Linked DNA regions of Homo sapiens: region 1 is linked to region 2. Evidence: promoter capture Hi-C in human tissues and cell types (Jung and others, 2019). All regions are on one chromosome and are shown on one strand. The core of a region is centred on a gene start or on the middle of the fragment in contact, and the rest is flanking DNA. Distances in the headings are between cores, read along the strand shown. Region 1 overlaps ZP4 (zona pellucida glycoprotein 4). Region 2 holds the start of CHRM3 (cholinergic receptor muscarinic 3).

The links. Contacts are between HindIII fragments. The study calls those that stand out against the background at their distance.
Region 1: a contact is called between a fragment that was not itself captured here and the fragment with the promoter of CHRM3 in region 2, in 1 of the 25 tissues and cell types used here (dorsolateral prefrontal cortex).

The regions. Positions count from the first base shown.
Region 1 is chr1:237,881,338-237,884,786 of GRCh38, reverse strand. It overlaps ZP4 (zona pellucida glycoprotein 4), which reads left to right. Exons shown (of 12, transcript NM_021186.5): 10 at 1-18; 11 at 1,941-2,045; 12 at 2,238-2,383. The coding sequence ends at 2,365. It also overlaps the pseudogene LOC100130331. Among named protein-coding and RNA genes, the nearest start is that of ZP4, 7.9 kb to the left of the region's middle. The HindIII fragment of the contact is 4,833 bases long and covers 1-3,449 here.
Region 2 is chr1:239,384,564-239,388,423 of GRCh38, reverse strand. It overlaps CHRM3 (cholinergic receptor muscarinic 3), which reads right to left and starts at 1,856. Exons shown (of 7, transcript NM_001375978.1): 1 at 1,197-1,856. RefSeq lists enhancers at 133-633, 634-1,134. The HindIII fragment of the contact is 18,968 bases long and covers 1-3,860 here.

The DNA.
Region 1 (3,449 bases), core at 108-2,607, 1.5 Mb after region 2:
CCTGTCCTGATCTCAGTCGTGAGTAACCAAGCTGTTAGAGGACAGATTTGAATGAATCTTGAGTCCCATGTCTAACCTTTCCTAGTCTCTGGCCAAACAACTCAAACTGAAGATTCATCTTACTAAGGCTTCTCTAAGTACTTGCGGTGCCATAGAACAAAGATGACTAGCTTCCCAGAATCCCATGTCTCCTAAAACAAGCTATAAATGTTCGGGTAACCCTCAACCTTAGCTTTTTCCATATAAACTTTAATTCATCCACCAACCAAGGCAGTTTATGGCCTATCTTATGTCTCATTTTAACAAGATACACCTGAATAGTTGAGAAACATGTCTGTACCTGCTTGACAGGTCTGGCAATGCAGCCTAAAGATCTATAAGTAGAATGACTGGACCTAGAATGTGGTCTCTAGTTCGTTGGGTCCAATGCTTCTAAGTAGTCAATGTGTCTGTATGTCTACATGGGTTCTACCTGTACTTGCCTAGCCTCTGAGTTTGGATTCATGACCTCTAAAGCTTTAAGTGCCTTCTAGCAAAACTCATAGTAACTAAATGGTGCTTTATTATGCAAAGTACAACATTAAGTAACATCTCCAAAAATGCATATTATCACTACTTCTAAAGAATGAACCATCTTAGATTGAGGTCCTACAACTGGCAAATAGAAGTAGAATTAAAACAGTTCTACACTGTTTGTGTGTGTTTGTGTGTGTTTGTGTGTGTTTGTGTGTGTTTGTGTGTGTTTGTGTGTGTTTGTGTGTGTGTGTGTTTGTGTGTGTGTGTGTGTGTGTGTGTGTGTGTGTTTGTGTGTGTGTGTGTTTGTGTGTGTGACCAGTTCTTGCTCTGTCATGCAGGTTGGAGTACAATGGCATGATTACAGTTCATGGTAGCCTCGACCTCCTGAGCTCAGGTGATACGCCCAGTTCAGCCTCCCAACTAAAACTACAGGCGTATTCTACTATGCCCAGCCTTTCTCCCTCTCTTCCTCTCTCTTCCTCTCTCTTCCTCTCTCTTCCTCTCTCTCCCTCTCTCTCCCTCTCTCTCCCTCTCTCTCCCTCCCCCGCCCTCCCCCGCCCTCCCCCGCCCTCCCCCGCCCTCCCCCGCCCTCCCCCGCCCTCCCCCGGCCCTCCCCCGCCCTCCCCCGCCCTCCCCCTCCCCCTCTCTCCCACCTCAGCCTCCTGAGTAGCTGGGATTACAGGCATGTGCCACAAAGTCCAGCTCATTTTGTATTTTTGGTAGAGACAGGGATTCACCACGTTGGCCAGGCTGGTCTTGAACTCCTGACCTTAGGTGATCCACCTGCCTTGGCCCCCCAAAGTGTTGGGATTACAGGCATGAGCCACCACGCCCGGCCTTTGTCTTATTTTTTTATAGAGATGGATCTTTATGTTGCCTGGGCTGGTCTCAAACTCCAGAAAGCTTTTTTTCCTCACTGTCCACCTGCAGGTGTGTCCTTTGTTTCCCACTCTTCCATTTGCCATCTTGCCATCTTTCTTAATAAAACATAGGATACAGAAAACGTAAAACTGTATATTTCAAGTGAATGAAATTTGTTTTACTTCACTTGAAAACCAGATCTAAACTCATTAAATTGTTTTCTCTGCATCTCAGCCTCCAAGTTCTGTTCTAATAGTTACCTTTGAATTTCAGGGAAAGATCTCTGAATTATAAACATGATACTGTCAAAGTACTATTTAGAAAAGGATGGCAGTTCAGGGATAGTTTCTAACATCTTTATACGAAAGTCCTGGTGAAACTAAGGTAATGGCATCAGATATAAAATCTCACTTGTTCAAGTACATATTAATATACTTAATGAGGTTTTTGTAAGGCATAGAACCAAGCTTTATAGAGACACTTGGCCTTGCACCATAACATTTTCTATCCCTGCCCTATGTGTGCAAAAACTAATGAATTACTAGGTCTCATTTCTCTAACAGGAAGAAGAAATTTTGACAACAGTTCTCAGAACACTACTGCTAGTGTTTCTAGCAAAGGCCCCATGATTCTACTCCAAGCCACTAAGGACCCTCCAGAAAAGCTCCGTAAGTATCCAAGAGGGAGGAGATCAAACTAGTGAACTAAATTACTAATCAAAGCAACTTCCTCCTTTCTATCCCTCTTGTTCTAGTCAAAAGAAATTGACCTTCCTATAGCAGAAGACTGCTAGTCTTTGTCAGGACACAGAATCACTTGGTTTTAGCATACATTAACCTACCTTTCCATCCATCCTCCAGGTGTTCCTGTAGACTCGAAAGTTCTGTGGGTGGCAGGCCTTTCTGGGACCTTAATCCTTGGAGCCTTGTTAGTATCCTACTTGGCTGTCAAGAAACAGAAGAGTTGCCCAGACCAAATGTGTCAATAAAACCAGAGTGTATTCCCAGCCTGTGCTGAGCTTCTCATTTGAAAGGTAAAAGGTTAATTTCAGACTAGTTCATCTGTTCACATCACTTTATCTCTTAAGCTTGGTAGTATAACTCAACTGAGAATAGAATAGAAACTGATACAAAAATTTCAGACTTAGTAGAGGTCTTAGGTCAGAGAACGTGGAATAAAATTTTTCCATAAGATCAAGGAAACTAGGGTAGAACTAATTATGAATCTAGATCACTGGTTCTCAAACTTGAGTGTGCCTCAGGATCATGGGAGGGCTGGTAGAAACAGATGACTGTTCCCATTCTCGGTTTGAATTCAGTAGGCCTGGTCCCATTCTCAGAGTTTGATTCAGTAGGTGTGGACAAAGGTTTAAACTCACATTTCCAGCCATTTCCTAGATGATGCTGATCTTCCCTGGTCTGAGCACCAGACTTAAACCAATGTCTAGAACAGTGACTAAAGGTATCTGATCATAGATCCTCCAACTGGAGGTGGCTTGATCATCAGAGACTTAGTTTTGAGCCAGAACTGACAAGTAGTTTCCTAGTCTTAAGAACTAAGACTTTTTTTTTTTTAAAGGGGGTGGGTGGGGATACCATCACTGACTTCTCAAGGCAAACATCCTGTTTAAGGAACTTTCTTATAACTGATGCTGCTGCTCAGCCATACTCTGGGGTACTTCCTATTCTCACTGAAATTCTGAAACTAATCCTGGTTCTATCAACTTCACCTACTTATTTTTCAGGGAATAACTGCTAAATTGACCTTTCAGCAAGGTAAAGGTGTTACACTCCTGAACAGCTGCTTTGTAGTCAAGCCAACCCTACTTCAAATTGCTAAGCAGGATGTAAACCCTGACCTTACAGGGATACGTGTGTTTCACGCAACAAACTATCCTAGAAGCTTGATGTTAACATACTTGAGCCTCATGAAAATATCACATAGTATTCATTCATCCCCAGCGTCTAGAATCTGGGAAAGATACAAATCAAATAACTTGCCCAGGGTCACTTGAGCAACAAAAGATAGATTCCAGTTCAAGTTTTAACACTAACTTGCACCCTTAACTCCCC
Region 2 (3,860 bases), core at 607-3,106:
CTACAAAGGTCAAAATGGGGGGAGGGGACAGGTTATCTGTCTTGGAACTCAGAGGGCAAGAGAGAAAGGAAAAGTCTGTGCAAAGCATATGGTGAAATAACCAGTGTTCTTAACCACACATCGCTTTGATAAATACATTTTTGTCCTAAAGAGGGCCGCCCTTTCACATTGCAAACACGGACACTGGCGGGGATCGAGGGGACATATCCTTGCAGCCTTTGGACAGGTTCCAGTAACACTTGCAGACAAATGAAGGTTTGCATTCTTGAAACCTATCCATATGGATGCAGTTCCCAAATCCCTGCTGCCTCTACCACTTCCAAATGCGTGCAAGGAGAGTCGGACACACGCACAAGCATGCAGAACAGGATCTCAATTCCAGCACGCACACCGCGAAGTAGACAAGTGAATTCTGCTGCTGGAGTCAACTGTCCGCCCGCCCCCGCCGTTTAAAAACACGCAAAAATTAACCTCGCTATTAGGAGGCTATGCTGAGGAAGTGTTCCAAAGAGGAGAACCGGTGCAGTCCAGCGGCCGCTGCCTCGCGAGTGCAGACTCTCCCCGGGTCAGTAAAGATGCGCACTAGGCTAGGTACCTTCGCCCAAGTGTTACTCGAAGTGCCAAATTTGCCTTCTCGCCCCCTGAAATGCAATCCGAACTTGCGGCCCCACTGCGAGGTTGGCGGGTGCCAGCTTTAGCCTTCTTAGAAATGACAGGAAACCAAATGGGGAGATGGGAGACAAACGCTCAACACACGAGTGCGCTCACAAACACACCCGGAGCCCAGTAGCTCCTCATGCTCGGGCACTTTGGAGCCTCAGATCCGGCAGTGGCGAAGAGAGAATCGAAGCGAGGGAGAGCGGGGTGGGACGTCCCCGACTCTCTCCCGGCCACCGCTCGCATGATTCCCGTCCCTTTCGGGGCACTTGAGTGCCAGCGGGCGTTCCCCACCCTCAGTCCCAGAACTCCAACTCCGCACCAGATCGCGCTGTCGGAATTCAAGTGCCCCCATCTTCCCCAAATCAACAGCCTCTCTCGTCCCTACCCAGCCCCTTCTTTGGACTCCAAACACAAGACCTCTCCTACCCGCGCCGAAAACTTTTTCCTCCTTTCGCAACGAGATAAGGCAAGAAACCAGGTCAGCCGCTACCGCCACCCGCTCTGCCCAGCGCCTGGGTGGCGGGCGCCGTCCCTACCTGGCAGCTGCGCTCCAGGTGGCTGTCCCACGCCGGTCTCCGCGCCTGCCCGGTGCGCGGGTGGCGTCCGCTCCACCTTCCCTTCGTCTCCTCCGGCTCCGCGTTCAGGGAGCGACTGTCCTTAAGATCGTGCCCCCCTGCCCGGAGCCGCCCTTCAGTTCATCGCCCGTCTTCCCAGAAGCGCTGCTGCGGCCCCGGCGGACTGATGAGGAGCCTGGAGATCCGCGATGGCACCGATGGCCCCGCGGTGTGCGCTCCGGGGTCTGAGAGCGCTCCGCCCGCGGGCAGCTGCGGCCGCGCGTCACATGCCGCCTCCGGGCAGCGGCCGCGGCACCTGCCCAAGCGGCAGCGCTCCCGGCTCGGCAGTGCCGCCCCCGCGCCCTGTGCTCCCCTGCACGCTCCGGCCCTTTCTGTTCACGCCCTTTTCCCTCTGTCTCCCGCCTCACTTTTTCTCTTCTTTCCGTCTCCTTCTTTATCGTGTATTCCCTTTCTCCAAAAGCAGAGAGAAGGCGCTCCAAGGGGGAGGAGAGGTCTTTTCCTCCCCACGAACTCTTCCTCTGCCTGGTGGTGGCGGTCGTGGCTACTGCTGGCCGCTCCTCCTCTCCTTCCTCCTCGCGTTCCTCCTGCTCCTCCTCCTCCCCGGACTGAGAGAGCTGGTGTAATGCACAGGCTGCGTGCTTGAGACCAAAACCTGCCCGGCTTCTGAGCATGCCCAGTTGCCCTGCCGGCGCCTAGCTCCATTCCCGCGTGCCCGCTGGGCTCCGCGTTCTCCGCCTGGCAGGGGGCGAGGAGATCCCAGGGTACTCCTGGGGTGGGTTGGCTGAAAGCGGAACACCAAGCAGGAGAGAGGGGGGCCTCACCCACCCAGCATGGCCTCACCTGTTCCCAAATTGTGCCTCCCGCGGCGCTTCAAAGATAGATTTTGCCGGTCTGTTAGTTTTGTTGTGTTCGCTTTTAAATTGGTTTCCCTGGACTGCTTAGAAGGACTGGAAGGAATTCGATTCCTTGGGCACAACTTATCGATGAGTGAACTTCAGCTCAGTTACAATATACGACTCCATGGCAAACCTTTCTCTAAGGAACAGTCTGATGCATCTACTTTTTGACATTTAGTGAGTCTGTTTCTGCAGAGCAGTGTAATAGAGGACGACTTGACTTTTCCCTCCCTGGACAGTTACACCTTGGGAGAAAATAAGACAAGCATCCATGAAGAAGACACTGACGTGCACGCGCGCGCGCGCGCGCGTACACACACACACACACACACACACACACACACACACACACACACTTTTTTAAATCAGAAAATAAAATGAAAGATATAACATTGCTAGCCAGTCTTTTAAAGCTCAAGAGGAATGAAAATCTAAGAAAGAAAGAAAGAAAGAAAGAAAGAAAGAAAGAAAGAAAGAGAGAGAGACAGAAAAGGTTATTATGTACTACTGCCAGCTAACTATGTAAGGAAAAAGTGGAGAGATACCAAATTTGAAAAGATACCAATGAGGCTGTCCCACGGCACTCTCGAGGTTTTGTTTAAAAAGCACATAAGGAAAGATAACAGAGGAATCTCACAAGAAAGGACAAGCATAACAATGATAACTGAAAAAGAAGAAAAGAAAGAAAAAGGAAGGAAGGAGGAAGATAAAAAGAAGAAAAAAGCAAGAAATTGAAGCATAGTATGAAATGAAATATTTAACAATATTAAAGGCAGCAAATGATTTTAATTCTATTTGGAACAAGAAGATAAATAGGAAAAGATAGAGCTCTTTGAAAAATTAAGTAATTCTAAGAGATTAGAGAAACACCAGTATATGAATTCCTTTCTGAACCTATATTCTTCTCTAGGTAGAACAATCTTTAGGAGAGAAGAGACTAAACTTTGCGTAGAAAAGATTGAGATCATGCTGGGAAAATAGCTAGTGAGAAAGCATGTGGCTACTTAAATTAATTAAAATATCTAGGCTTAGGTAAATTGCATCCAGGATACTAGAATAGTAATAATAATAACAATATTGTAGCCTTTTTATTGGGATACCTCTCAGAAGAAAATATAACAGTTACTTTCAGATACTTCTTTAATCTTTAAAACAATCAAATGAGTATTTTATCCTTGTGTACTAAAGGAGAAAGGAATTTAAAGGAATAATTTAATTGTCCATTATATAGCTAGTAAGAGGAACATGAATTCGGATTTAATATCTTTCCCATTACATAGAATTGTTATTTGCCTGTGGAAACAGGAGTAGCTTTGATAATATTGATCCATAAAGAACAGGCAAGGACCAAAAGAATGGACAAGTAGTGATTATGTAGTTTTCAGAGAAAGACAAAAGTTATTAATTTTTAATGAAAATATTCTGGTATGTATACAATGGTTAAGTTTGAGACTGGCCTCTGGCAATGTTCTGGAGAAGATACTGAAATAAATCATTTGTGACTAGTGAGAAAAGAAAAGGAAGCAACTACAATTTAGTAAAATAAATCATACCAGATTAAATTCATTTCCACTTGTAAATAGTCACTAAACTCATAATACAGTATTTCCTGATTTCAGCTAACCTTCCCATTATCATTATGGACAAGGTAAATGTAGATGGCATGTTTGTATCAAACAAATTACAGTTTAGACAGAGTTGCCTCCAGTTTCTTGGTAAGTGGATTCAT